2 separate regions of the Homo sapiens genome follow, and region 1 is linked to region 2. Evidence: promoter capture Hi-C in 16 types of primary human blood cells and fetal thymus (Javierre and others, 2016). All regions are on one chromosome and are shown on one strand. Each heading gives the region's core, a stretch centred on a gene start or on the middle of the fragment in contact. The rest is flanking DNA. Distances are from core to core; before and after follow the strand shown.

Region 1 (7,639 bases), core at 1,395-3,894, 530 kb after region 2:
TTTGAATCCATCCTGTTGAGTGGTTACAGAATTGTCTATTTCTTCTAACCTAATGCTAATAATGTGCTGGCTTCTACATCTTTATAATTGTTCATTAGCTTCAAGCAGTATGCTTTGACTTCTATGTCCTTGAAACTATGAAATTATGTTTCTATAATTCAGTTTTTCTTAATGTTTCTACTTTACATAGAATGTATTATGAAACTGAGATCTGAGGCATTTTTAGAAATTCTGAACGGGGGATATCAGTTTAGTCAGAACAGTGTCAAATGTGGAACCCAAACAACATAATTGGTACTTTGAGGTTGAGGTTGATGTGACATTCTCTTGAACATATTTTAATACTAATGCATATTTAAATTAAGATTTTAACCTCCTGACGTTCAAACCAACAAGCCAATCACTATCCAACTAGAGAGACATGTCTTACAAATAAGATGACACGACAAAAATCACTTGTCTTGAATCTATGTTTATTGCACAAGAGATTTGAAAAAAGACTAGTTGTTTATTAATATTTTGACAGTGAATTTTTATATTAAAATAGCTTTTCCAATGGATTATACACCCAGAAACCATCCCAAATATATTTGTCTATATCCTGAAAGGCTGCTACCTAAAAATGATGGTATGGCATGTGTTCAAACATGACATCCATTTCATTTTACAATTTTATCTTTTTATATAGCAGGTAGATTTCTGGCTATCCTACACAATATAATTTTTTGTTTCCAAGAAGACCAGATGAGGTAGGCATCTGTATTAGAAATACGCTAGACCTCCCTATCAGAATCTACCTGTCCAGAAATAGTATTATTTATTGTATCCCTTTTTGATCCTTGTTACCAGCCTCAAAGTAGCAAGGCTTCTTCAAAGAAGCTTAGCTTTGATCGTGACCAGAGCCAGGTTGACAGGTGAGATGTTAAAGTTTGTTTTGCCCCAACATGATCTTGTCATGACCCATTTTGGTGCCATGCAGCTGAAGGTATGTTTTGGTTGAGGATTCTAACTATTCTAACTTCCAGTGAATTCATGCACAGCTGGATCTTGTTGGGAAAAAGAATCATCTTTCAACCCTTCAATGGTATTTCCTACTTACCATTTCATTTAACATTTATCAGAGTGCCACCTTTGTAGTAAAATGCTGAAGTGAAAATTCTTATGTTTAATAGCAGGGAAAAGTGAAAATGATTGTATCTGATTGAATCTGTACTTGCAGTGAACAGTTTAAATTTAAATTGGGAAGGTGCCAGAGGCCTATTGGCTTCCTTCCGTAATTGTCAAGTTCCATGGAATGGAGGAAGTTATTTTAATTCCAAGTAACAAGAATAATTTTGCATCCTGAGATCCAGTGCTGCTACTTAAAACCAAAATACACCAACATTTTATGGCACAGAAATACAGAAGATCCTTCTTGCCAAATGCCTCTGTGTTTATTTACTTCAAGTCCCAGAAGAACAACCCAGATCAATTTTGCCACTGACATTATAAATAGCATAGCAAATTCATAAGGAGTCTTTTCTTCAAAGAACGGAAACTAATCTGAAGTCTGATTAAACTCACAGGGTCCTTGTGAGGGAGATGGGAAGAGGCAGAGTATTTTGTCTAATTTCAAGTTCAAGAAAGCAAAGAACACAAAAGTTAAGTGGCTGGTGTCCATTTACTCAAGTAAATGTATTCAGGAGTTGAGCCAGAAATAAAGATCAAGTCTTCTGGCCCATGCACTAGGCCCCATGCTGCCTCACAGCTTTCAAAACCTTCATTTTCTTGGGAAATGCTAAAAAGCTTTCCCCTACCATACATACTAGATTCAGACACACTGCCATCTACTGACCCACCAAAGGATGTGCCAGCACAAGACATCCTGACCTTCAAGGGAGGGAGGAACACCTTGAGAGGAGTTGAGATCCTGCTTTCTCTTCAGAATGCCATCTCTAGGATGCCAATGGGCTGTGTCTACAGTACTATGTAGGAAAGTGCTGCAAGAGGTAAGTGAATTTAGAATATTTCCTCCCCGATGAAGGGATTAGTATTCTGGCACTATTAATATTTATATAACGATGTCACAATGCACCATGTTGTCTATATGTGGGATATCCTTGAAATAACCCCTTCCTCTCGTACTCTTATTTTGACATATTCGTCTAGGGATTTGAATAGTATAAGACAGCCTTTCTTTTTCACATAAAACAGTTTGAGGAATGCCATACGATTTTTGTGTTGTCTATTTTGTCTTTCACTGGTGTCCTATAAGATGTGCTAGTTATCCTACATGATGCCAAGAAAGGCATAATAGAAACCAAGCTAAATAGCCACAGTCCTGTGCTTGTAGAAAATATCATAAAATGTCCTAAAAGAGCTCTAACAATAGGAGAACTAGGCTCCTAACTATAATTTCAGCAATATTCTTTTTCGTTCAGAGCCAAGGTATTTTTTTCCCAGAAAAAATATCAGTGTCTTTCTTGCCACATCAACCCTTTAGAGGTTGCCTACATTCTTCCTAGAATAAAAGTAACATTTTAAAGACTTCATCAAGCGATGATGAATACAATTACTGTTTTTATTCCATTTTTACAGCCAAAAATTAAAGTTATGATGTTTGTCTATTGCTTGTGATTGTACTTAGTCCATTGCCTCTAAGAAAGAAGTTGAATTTAAGTATGTGGACCATATATTTCTTTTTTGATGAGTGTAAATGGATAAAATTAATATCTTAATATATAATCAGTGTCTATAAAAGAATCCACGTAGTAGCAGAGAAGCATTTGTGCCATGCTGGTTACTTGTCTTCATTTGCTTTGAGATCTCAAGAAAAGTTTATTTCCCAGGATGGTGGTTCACAGGCATTGTGGTTGAGGACTATACATAGAAAACTAATTGTGAAAATAGAACTTATTCCTATTCTTTCAGGATATGAAATCTTATGTTCATGACAATTTAATTGTTTTTATAAAATAATTGGTTTGGCATTACAGTTAGTAAAGCAGAACTTATCCTTTGAAGTTTACAGCTTGGAACTCAATCTGAAGAAGACCACTGATTTAATTTGGAATAAATGTCTATATGTGTCCAACCAAATCTTTACAGAAATATCTTAAGTCTTCTTAGGCAGAAATAAGAAACTGTTGTTTCCAAATTTTTTAAATGTCAAGAGGGTCTCTAAAATTATGACAGAGATGAGGGATACAAGGAGAGATACATAAAGAATGGAAACATCTGGGAGTTTTACTGACTCAGTGAAACTAGGGCATTGTGAAAACCTAATTGAAAAATCTACAGAGAGAAAAGTCCAGTTCACAAATCTGGCCCTCACATGTTCAGTCCTTAGTAAAGGCTTATTAGATATTGCAAGATGAGAGTGAGGTCCAGGAATGGTTAAATGAAAAATGAGAAAATAAAAGGTTATGAGGAGAGCAGGAAGGAATAATAATAGGAGGGTGCCAAGGCATTTGAACATCTTTGTTATGAGCTTGGACAAGATGCTAGACATTTAGAAAGCTTACCTGAGTTAAACTGAACTACCAAACTTATTGAGAAGCAGTAACAAGAACAAAATGTTCTTTAGCCTTGTTCTATTTAAAGCAGATGCATGCATATTAATCTTTTACAACATGATATTTATATTTGATTCTTCTTGTAAAACCATCACAAGACATCAACTCGTCAGAATACATAGATTTTTTAAATGTTTGCAGAAACTATCTTCCTGACACTGGAATGGTGAATTAATTCAAGTGTTATCCATATGTTTCCTCTGTTATTCTTTCTTTTAATTTTTCTGTCATTATATTTTTGATGATTTAAGACAGAGATACAACATCACATTTTCTTAAATAAAGAATATAAAAATAATTTCACACAGAATTAAAGGTATTTGTACAAATTAGTATGGTTTGTTTTAGATAAAAGATTAAGTAATCAGTTAAATCTCCTAGACCTAGGTGAGCCATAAGAAACACAGGCAGCGTCTGGCATTCTTGTAGAGTTGAGGAGACAGCTGAGAGTTCCCAGACAAAAGCAGCTAGGGTTCACAGAGCATGAGCGAGGGGAGAGCTGCATGGGGAGAAAACTCTGGCAATTTCTATCAGGTCTTTCTCAAGTGTTTCAGGAGAGAACTCATCTGCACACGTGTGGGTGAAATCTACTCGAAACTGAAGAATGAACCTCTGGAAGGACTAAGGGGAACAATTCTTGGAGCTCAGGTTAGGCCAAGAATATTTTATTTTTCTTCACCATCCAGAAGGGTCAGTTCATCAAGAGGATATAGCATTGTGAAGTATTTATGCAAGTAGTAACAGAGCTTCAAAATACATGAAACGAAAATAGATAAAGCTGCAAGGAGACACATATTCAAAAAATAGTTTAAGGTTTCAATATCCCACTCTCAATAATTGATAGAAAAAGTTATGCTAATTCTATACAAACTCTTCCAAAAATTGAAAAGTATGGAATACTTTCCTAATCAGTTAATGATGCTAGCATTACTCTGACACTAAAACAAACAAACAAAAAAAGCATTTTAAGAAAAGAAAACCGGCTGGACACGGTGGCTCACGCCTATAATCCCAGCACTTTGGGAGGCCGAGGCAGGTGGATCACAAGGTCAGGAGATCAAGAATATCTTGGCCAGCATGGTGAAATCCCATCTCTACTAAAAATACAAAAATTAGCCAGGTATGGTGGCACGCGCTTTTAATCCCTGCTACTCCGGAGGCTGAGGCAGAAGAATCACTTGAACCCAGGAGGCGGAGATTGAAGTGAGCTGAGATCGCACTATTGCACTCCAGCCTGGGTAACAAGAGTGAAATTCGTCTCAAAAATAAATAAAATAAAATAAAATCAGAGACCGATATTTTGCATGAACATAAGATATAATAATTCTTAACTAAATGTAAAAAAAAAAACAGAATCCAACAATATGGAAAAAGCATAACGCATCATTACCAAATATGTATTATCCCATAAAATGCAAAAGTGGTTTAACATTTGAAATTTATCAATATAATTTACCATGTTAACAGATTAAAAAGAAAAAATATACAGTAATCTAAATAGATGCAGAAAAAAACTAAGACAATCGGATTTAACATCTATTTCTGATAAAAACTCTCAGCACATTAGAAAAAGACAGGAACTTATAAAAACCTACATACAATATCATATTTGTGTTATGGGTTAAATGCTTTTCTCCTAAGGTAAGGAACAAGAAAACTTCATTTGCTCTTTTCAACATTGTACAGGAGGATCTAGTTAGTGCACTAAGGCAAGAAAAATAAATAAAATACATTCAAATTGGAAAACAAGTAATTTATTATTATTATAATTTAAGTTCTGGGATAGATGTGCAGAACGTGAAGGTTTGTTACGCAGGCATACCGTGCTATGGTGATTTGCAGCACCCATCAACCATCATCTACATTGGGTATTTCTCCTAATGCTATCCCTCCCCTAGCCCCCTACCCACTGACGGAACCTGGTGTGTGATGTTCCCTTCCCTGTGTCCATGTGTTCTCATTGTTCAACTCTCACTTATGAGTGAGAACATGCAGTGTTTGGTTTTCTGTTCCTGTGATAGTTTGCTGAGAATGATGGCTTCCAGCTTCATCCATGTCCCTGCAGAGGACATGAACTCACCCTTTTTTATGGCTGCATAGTATTCCATGGTGTATGTCTCACATTTTTTTGATACAGTCTATTATTGATGGGCATTTGGGTTGGTTGCGAGTCTTTGCTATTGTGAATAGTCCTGCAATAAACATATGTGTGCATGTGTCTTTATAATAGAATGATTTATAATCCTTTGGGTACATACCCAGTAATAGGATTGCTGGGTCAAATGATATTTCTGGTTCTAGATCCTTGAGGAATTGCCACACTGTCTTCCACAATGGTTGAACTAATTTACACTCCCACCAACAGTGTAAAAGTGTTCCTATTTATCCACATCCTCTCCAGCATCTGTTGTTTCCTGACTTTTTAATGATTGCCTTTCTAACTGGTGTGAGGTAGTATCTCATTGTGGTTTTGATTTTTTTTTTGAGACAGAGTCTAACTCTGTCACCCAGGCCGGAGTGCAGTGGTGCAATCTGGGCTCACTGCAACCCCCGCCCCCGAGTTCAAGCAATTCTCCTGCCTCAGCCTCCTGAGTAGCTGGGATTACAGGCATGTACTATCATGCGCTGCAAATTTTTGTATTTTTAGTAGAGACGGGGTTTCACCATGTTGAACAGGCTGGTCTTGAACTCTCGACCTCCAATGATCTGCCCACCTTGGGCTCCCAAAGTGCTGGGATGACAGGCTTGAGTCACTGCACCCAGCTGGGAAACAATCAAACATTTTATTTCCAGACATGATCATCTATGTAGAAAATTAACTGACATCTACAAAAAAACTATTAGAAATAATAAGTGAGCTTTGCAAGTTTGCAAGGCGCAAACTTTATATACAATAAATAAATTGTATTTCTATATACTAACAATAAACAATGTGAAATAAAAATAGTATTTGTAATAATATACATAAAAAACTGATAAATATAATGAAAAATGTAAACAATATAAAGCATTAATGAGAGAAATTAAATGAAATATAAATAAATAGAGAGACAGTCTGTATTTGAAGATGAGAAGACTCAATATTGTTAAAATAGCAATTCACAAATTGATCCATATTCAATCCAATTTCAGTCAAATCCCAGTAGTTTGTTTCATAGAGGCTGACAATCTAATTCTAATATTCATATGGAAATTCAAAGAACTTAGAATAGCTCAAATAACTTTGAAAAAGAACATAGCTGAATGACTTACACAAGCTGACTTCAATGCATACTATAAAAGCTGCATTAATCAAGAAAGTATGATATTGGCATCAAGATAGGCAAATGGATAAATGGAACACATTGAAGAATCCAGAAATTGATTTTCAACAAAAGTACAAAGACAATTCAGTGAAGACAGAATAGTCTTTTACGAAAACGATGTTGGATCAATTGTATATTCACATGCGAAAAAATAAAAGAACTTTAATCTATACCTTGCATCATGTACAAAAAACTTAAAACTATTAAAATTCCTAGAAGATAACAGTTATCTTGAGTTAGGCAAAGATTTCCTATATAAAACCACTAAAGCCACAAATATATATGAGAAAAAGATTAATAAATTATGTGCCATCAAAATTAAGCATGTTTGTTGATCAAAAGATACTGCTAAGAGAATGAAAAGGAAAGCCACAGACCAGAAGGAAATATTTGCAATTCACATAGTTAGTAAATGATTTGTATGTTGACTATATAAAGACTTTCAAAATAAGAAACAAACAAAAAATGTATTAAATTAAGGGCAAAATTTTGAAATGACTCTTTAAAAACAACATGGATGCCAAATAAGCACATACAAATATGCTGAAATTATTAACCATTAGGGAAACGGAATCTAAATTTAGAATGAGATATCTCTACACATCTAGTAGAATGTGTACAATTTTAAAAAACTGACCCCACCAAGTGTTGTGAAAGATGTGAAGCAATCTATTTCATTCATAGGTATTTACACAAGATAAGTGAAAACCTGTCCACAGACAAGGTTGTTCATAGTGACATTATATGTAATCCACAATACTTGGAAACAACCCAAATTTC
Region 2 (7,006 bases), core at 551-3,050:
TGTAGCACCTTGCCCAGATTTTAAATATTTATCAAATTATGTCACATATATAAGCTAATACAAATATTTTACCAAAGATGTGATTCCCCCAATCTTCTGAGAATATTTTTCTTTAAAGAACTCTTAAAATATTTTGTATACATTTAATGAGTATATGTGTCTCTCCTACTATCATACAACTTCTAATAGGGTAGGAATTTTTGTCTGTTTTTGGTCATTACTACATCCCCAGCATCTATAATAATGTATGGCACATAGACTTGGGTCTCAGTAAATAACTATGCTGAATATTTATGTTGAATGAATTGATGAGATGAATAGGGGATTTTACATGGACATATATAATAATTGAGGTGCTTCCTTTATGCCAGGGGCTATTTTAATGACTTATATTTGTTCATTAAATACTTGCAATAAAACTGCAAGGTAGGAATTATCATCAAACCTATCTGGCAGATGGGAAGACTAAAGCTTGGTTAATTTCCTTTCCTAAGATCAGCAGTTAAAATATGGATCCAACCATTCTGGCTTCAGAGTCTGTGCCCTTAATCTTTGTAATACAGTGTTACTTAAAATGGTGCCATCTGAAGAAAAAGAGCCTTACGTAACAAAGCACTTTTATTCCAAATAGCAAAACTGCTTCATACACCATTTCTGCGTCTGGAGACTGCCTAGAGCTTAGGTAAAAAACAATGAAAGGAAGGTAAGAAGTCTTAGTCCATCTCACACCCATTAGGATGGCTATTATCAAAAGAACAGAAAAATAATATGTATTGGTGAGGACATGGAAAAACTGGAACGCTTCTGCTTTATATGTGGGAATGTAATACAGTGCAGCTGCTATGGAAAACAGCATACCGATTTCACAAAACAAAATGAAATAGAATTACTCTATGATTTGTCAGTTCCACTTCTGGGTATATATTCAAATAATTGACAGCAGAATCTCAAAAACATATTTGTATACCATGTTCATAGCAGTGTTATTTACAATAGCAAAAGGGAAGAAATTTGTGCTCAATGAAGAATGGGTAAACTAAAATGTGGTACATACATAGAATGGAGTATTATTCAACTTCAGAAAGAAAGGAAATTGTGACCCATGCCACAACATGAATAAACACCGAGGACATTACACTAAGTGAAATAAGTCAGGCATCAAAAAATGAATACTGTATAATTCTACTTACATGAGATACCTAGAGAAGTCAAATTCATAAAGACAGAAAGTACAATGTTAGTTGCCAGGGACTGATGGAAGGAAAGGATAGAGAGTTACTGTTTAAGGAGTATAGAGTTTCAATTTCCCAAAATGAAAACAACTACAGTTGGATGATATTGATGGCTACACAGCAATGTGAATGTACTTAATGCCACTGAACTGGATACTGTAAAATGGCTAAGATGGTAAATTTTATATTATGTGTATTTTACCACAATTTAAAAAAGGAACTCTTAGTACTTGATTTAGGTGGCACAACTACCCTATACTGTGATTTTACTTTCCATTTAAATCTCAGTGAATTAAAGATTGTTTACTGCATGTGTTTAGCTCTGTGTGTGCCTTCTCAATTCTCTCCTATTCTTGTTTCTCACCCACCAAGGAATGGTAAAGCAATTTTCTTATGGGCACAGTTCATGCTACAATCTGAGATTCAATTGTGTAAAAATACCTTGGGAAATGACAATAGTTAACAGCTTCTTGGGCAATAATTATAAATACACATGTGTAGGTGTAAGTATTGTTCATTGATCTGTGTACACGCCCTGCCTAAAAGGATAGAGCTACCTTGCCTGTCATTGCAAGTGTAACACACATTGCAAGTGCCAACGTGAGGAGCCATGGCTGGTGAGTCTTCCCCAGTAAGAGGATAGGTCTTAGGGAGGAATTAGTTTGGGAAAGGACTGCCTTTCTCATTAGGCTTTGTGAAGGTTTGTGTGGGCAGCCTTGGGGTGGAGAGAGAAAGAAGAAGGGAGAGGCAGGGTGGGAAGATGCCCAGACTTGCACAGCGTTTTTGAAGGAACAGATAAAGGCCAGGAAGAATCTGGGATCCTACTGGTATCTGCTATAATTTTGCTAGTGTTGTCCACATTTGAAGAGTTATGTAGTTCAGGATGAGAATGGGCACAGGATGGGTATCAGTAGCTGTTGTTCTCAAAGGAAACAGTCAATTCCCTTCAAAATTCATGAAACTGTCAATTCCCTTCAAAATTCAAGAAACTGGGATGTGTCAGAATAGAATGACTTCTGATTTTTAGGAGATTCACAGAAAAATCATGAAGTCAAGTTTCCCAGGTCACTCAGTGAGCATATGTAGGTAATGCTAGAATCAGAAGGAAGTACGTGGAGTAAATGCAAAGGTATAAGACCGTTCCTTGGGATTACTGTACTTGTGGAGAGAAATGTTTAAATGATTGTTACCCTGTTGGTAAATTGAGAGGGAAATTGTGTCATGTTCATTATTTGAGGAATCTTTGTGCTTCCAACAGACCAACTCTTGCGTAAAAAGAGAAGAATTTTTATCCATTCAGTGGGTGCAGGCACAATAAATGCCTTGCTGGATTGCCTATTAGAGGATGAAGTTATTAGCCAGGAAGACATGAACAAAGTGAGAGATGAAAATGACACTGTCATGGATAAGGCTCGAGTCTTGATTGACCTTGTTACTGGAAAAGGACCCAAGTCTTGCTGCAAATTTATCAAGCATCTCTGTGAAGAAGACCCTCAACTTGCCTCAAAGATGGGTTTGCACTAAGGTAAGGTGGAATGATTCAACCTAATGTCCAAATAGGCCCTGTATCTTGAATTCAGTTATGATTTTCTTCACTTGTCTTGTCAGTTGATAATAGGGTTCCTATCATTTTAGCCTCAGACTCCATTCCTTTATGCATGGCTCTAGCTTATGTCTCTTCTGTCTACGTTTTTGTGTCCCTTGTACCTGTTCTCTCAGTACTCCCTGCTGACCACAGCTCATCTCTAATTCTATGTAGGTGGTAGATCATTACTGTAGTTCATTTAAAGAGCCTAGATGTTTTATCCTGAATCTTTTAATGGTCCTGGGGAGCAATGTACAATATCACTCCCTCTTGAGCCTAAGAAGCCCATGTATTTATTAGAAGAGAAGGTATAAGCTCTTTTTGTACCTACCACCCTGCTCTTACCCCATCTCCCTATTAAGTACTTTTCAGAATATACAATGATGATGGAATTGTCAAAGAATAAATTGAGTGTGTATATAAAATTAAATATGCACTAAATAATTATATTTGCATGAAATTATATATGGATTCTCGTTGGAAGTCATCTCCTTTGCCTTTTCTTTTGTGTAATATGGTCTACTTGCATGGGGCTAGTCTACAGACCATTCTCTGTAGCCTATCCCTTTGTATTTCTAGGCCTCCTAAGAGCCCTGATGCAGGCTCTTGTATCTGAGCTGGCCCATTCCAATACCACTTTTCTCCCTCCACAGAGAGAAGATGGAACTCTGGAGCACTTCAGAGACTTCCCAGAGCTTCTTCCAAGGGAGAAGATATTCTCGTGAAAGAAAAAAACAAAACAAAACAACAGTGCTTTTTTCAAACCTGATTAATTTCATCAATTTCCAATAAATCTTTCATTCTCTCATATTACTTTCTTCTTATTCTTTCTCTCCTCATACCAACAGAGGATAATTCATCAATAATAATGAAGGTCATGATGATTGTAATGTAATTAAGAAAGTCCCTCCCTTTCCCTTCCTTTCTGTTTAGTTCCTTTGCAATCCTGTAGAGACATGTACAGCTTACTTTGGTGCTTTTAGCACTGAGAGTCTGCTGTGATGGGAATAAAATGAAGTCCCAGCTCAGAATTTTAAATAGCGTTGCTTCTTTGTAATGTTCTCATCTAGTTGTTCAGACCCAGGTCTATGACAATTACTCAACAAAATAAACACAACTTCCTTTCTGGGAAAATAATAGAGAAAAATCCATGGCAGATACTCCATTGCCAGACATCAGGCTTCCACAAAAAAACTGTTCATAAAAGCACTGATAGCATTTCAAGTCCACATGGGCAGGGTGAAACAAGATATGACTTAATGTCTGAGGAATGGAGATTTGTGGAGTCAAGATAGTGTGATGGCATGTCATCGCTTTGCACCCTTCAGAGCAAAACACTGGCTATTAATTATGCTTAAGCTGTCTTTTCCCTGTGTATATAGTGTTAAATAATGAAGCATTGTCTTCTAGATGCCTCAGGATGTCTTCTAATTTGTTAGCTCATGTCAATTTCTAAAATTTCTGGCATAGGTGCTAACAAAGCATTGGGTGCCAGGAACAAAGGCCAAAAGAATTTCCTGAATTTTTTAGGTTTGTGCACTTTTTCCAAGCTCTTTAGCAAACTAAAATAAAACTTAATGTGATTCCTCTCCTTTCTGAATTTGTCAGCCATAAATTACGGAGAAAATAATTATTATAGGTTGACACCAAATACAGTAAATGGGAATGTTTGTTACTTTCTTCTACAGAAGAGGTATATGCCACTGACCGGAAGTGTTTATTTGAGATAAGTGATTAAGGTTAGGGCTATTCTCATTTGCAATCAGCTGGTTTATTTGAGAAAACACATTTTGAGGGTGATATTGTTTGTCTCTGTGTCCCCACCCAAATCTCATCTTGTAGCTCCCATAATTACCACGTGTTGTGGCAGGGACCCTGCGGGAGATAACTGAATCACGGGGACAGGTCTTTCCTATGCTGCTCTTGTAACAGTGAATAAGTCTCATGAAATCTGATGGTTTTAAAAATGGGAGTTTCCCTACACAAGCTCTCTCTCTTTGCCTGTTGCCCTCCATGTAAAATGTGACTTGCTCCTTCTTGTCTTCTATTATGATTGTAAGGCCTCCCCAGCCATGTGGAACTGTAAGTCCACTAAACCTCTTTCTTTTGTAAATTGCCCAGTTTCAGATATTGTCTCGGAATAATACACAGGGATTTACATTTTGAGTGTAGTTTGGCAGTATGCTCAGTATTCAAGGGAACAAGTTTGAGGTGAAGATAGGTCTGTCATAAGCTCAGTGATCATTTGGAAATTATCTTAACCTTTTTGTGGCACAAATTCCTTATATGTAAAAAGGAATTAAAAACACCATCCACATAGAGTCTTTGAAAGAATGAAATGGGTTTACAAAGGGCTAAGCCCAGTTCTTGCCAATGAATGAGCAAGAAATACATTTTTCCTGCATGTATAATAATTTTATTGGTATATTCCTTTATAGAGACATAGAATCATGATACAGAGTAAAGGATAAAAGTCCAGGGAATAAAAATCATAACCCATATAATTTTTCTTTAACTCCATATAAAGTACAAAACCTATAAATAATCAAATCAAGACTGTAAAAGTCTGTCCAGCCTATATAATTTATGTGAGGATTAGGGCAGCTCATGAGTATCCTCACCTTCAGTAAAGCTGTTAGAGTCAATTAGTGCCCCTGCTAAGAACCTGGGATAATTTATGCTGGACAGCAACAGGCAATGAGCAGTGATGTCTGCGAGGTCACTGAAACGAAAGACTTAAAGGAGTAGCTCAATCTGTGAGTCTTTTTTACTACCTAACCTGACTTGATCCCCTGAAGCCGAAAAGTAGCTAAACACAATGTGTTTTCAGTCAACCCTAGTAAACGTATATCTAGATCAAATAGTGGAATCTAAAACAAAACAAAACAAAAACACACAGTTCAAAACAATTCCTTTACTTCTCTTGAATCTCCCCTACCTCAACCAGATAATCATCCATAAGCTCTTCTCACAAAAGTATTTTGGAGCCACCACTGTTGGAGCCAGACAATTCTGGGGGCATGTAAGTTACACCTCTATTTAAAACAAAGCAATAGCTTTCCCGTGTTGGCCTTTAACACGACCAACAAATGTTATTCTCTGTGGCCTCCTTACCTATCCAGCCTCCTCGTGGAGTGCATTAACATTGTGGAGTGGAGTGCTAAGCTCTTGATGCAGACTCTTTCCTAATTTCCATGTCTGCACATTTCCCATCTCACTCTATTTCCTCTTATCAGAATGCTCTTCTCTTCAACCCATGCCTAACTTTTTATGATGCAGTCAGATGTCACTGCCCTATGGAAGCATTTATTGACACTGACTGGCTTGCATTCTTCTGATTATTTGCTTTTCTAATAACAGCTAGCTTTCAAGGAGGTCTTTACTGTGTGTCAGCACTTAGTATCTTCTCATTTATTCTCCACAACAGCCTTATTAAATTATTACAATTAGTATAACTTAGTCCCACTTTTCAGAGATAACTTGCCCAATACCACAAAGCTAAGAGGGAGCTGTGACATTAATGGCTGTGTATTCAAGACATCAATACATGGCATAAATAATGTCACTTACCTCCTGATCATAACACCTATCATAGATTGGAAGAGGTTCTATTTTTTATTTTAATATGGTTATTTGTGTAAATTTTCTATCCTAAATCATACATATAACTCCATGAGGACTTTGGGCACTTCTTTTGTTTGTTTGTTTGTTTGTTCGTTTGGCAGAGTTTTGTTCTTGTCGCTAGAGTGCAATGGCACGATCTCGGCTCACTGCAACCTCCACCTCCCGGGTTCAAGCAATTCTCCAGCCTCAGCCTCCTGAGTAGCTGGGATAACAGGTGCCTGCCACCATGCCTGGCTAATTTTTGTATTTTTCGTGGAGATGGGGTTTACCATGTTGGCTAGGCTGGTCTCGAACTTCTGACCTCAGGTGACCCACCCACCTCTGCCTCCCAAAGTGCTGGGATTACAGGCAGTGCACCCAGCCTAATTTTTGTTTATTATTTTAGCCTCAGTGTCAAGCATAGAACCTGGCATATCATAGACATCTTAGCAAATATTTATTGACTTTTTTTTGAAAATTTTCAAGACTTAGGGGAAAATATTATTGATTTTCACAAGTATTTGTGATTCAGGGATCAAGGAGACATTTCTATTAACTGCCTTTTCCCAAAAGAAGAGCAAAAGTT

What was found. The method cuts DNA at HindIII sites, captures the fragments that hold promoters and counts their contacts. A CHiCAGO score of 5 or more calls a contact.
Region 1: a fragment that was not itself captured here is called in contact with the fragment with the promoter of CARD18 in region 2 in 3 of 17 cell types (total CD4 T cells, activated CD4 T cells and non-activated CD4 T cells); the score reaches 7.7 in total CD4 T cells.

Annotation. Positions count from the first base shown.
Region 1 is chr11:104,603,586-104,611,224 of GRCh38, reverse strand. It overlaps LINC02552 (long intergenic non-protein coding RNA 2552), which reads left to right and starts at 1,923. Exons shown (of 4, transcript NR_120585.1): 1 at 1,923-1,988. The HindIII fragment of the contact is 1,713 bases long and covers 1,788-3,500 here.
Region 2 is chr11:105,134,563-105,141,568 of GRCh38, reverse strand. It overlaps CARD18 (caspase recruitment domain family member 18), which reads left to right and starts at 1,800. Exons shown (of 3, transcript NM_021571.4): 1 at 1,800-1,849; 2 at 2,491-2,757; 3 at 3,471-3,855. The coding sequence starts at 1,843. The coding sequence ends at 2,756. The HindIII fragment of the contact is 11,660 bases long and covers 474-7,006 here.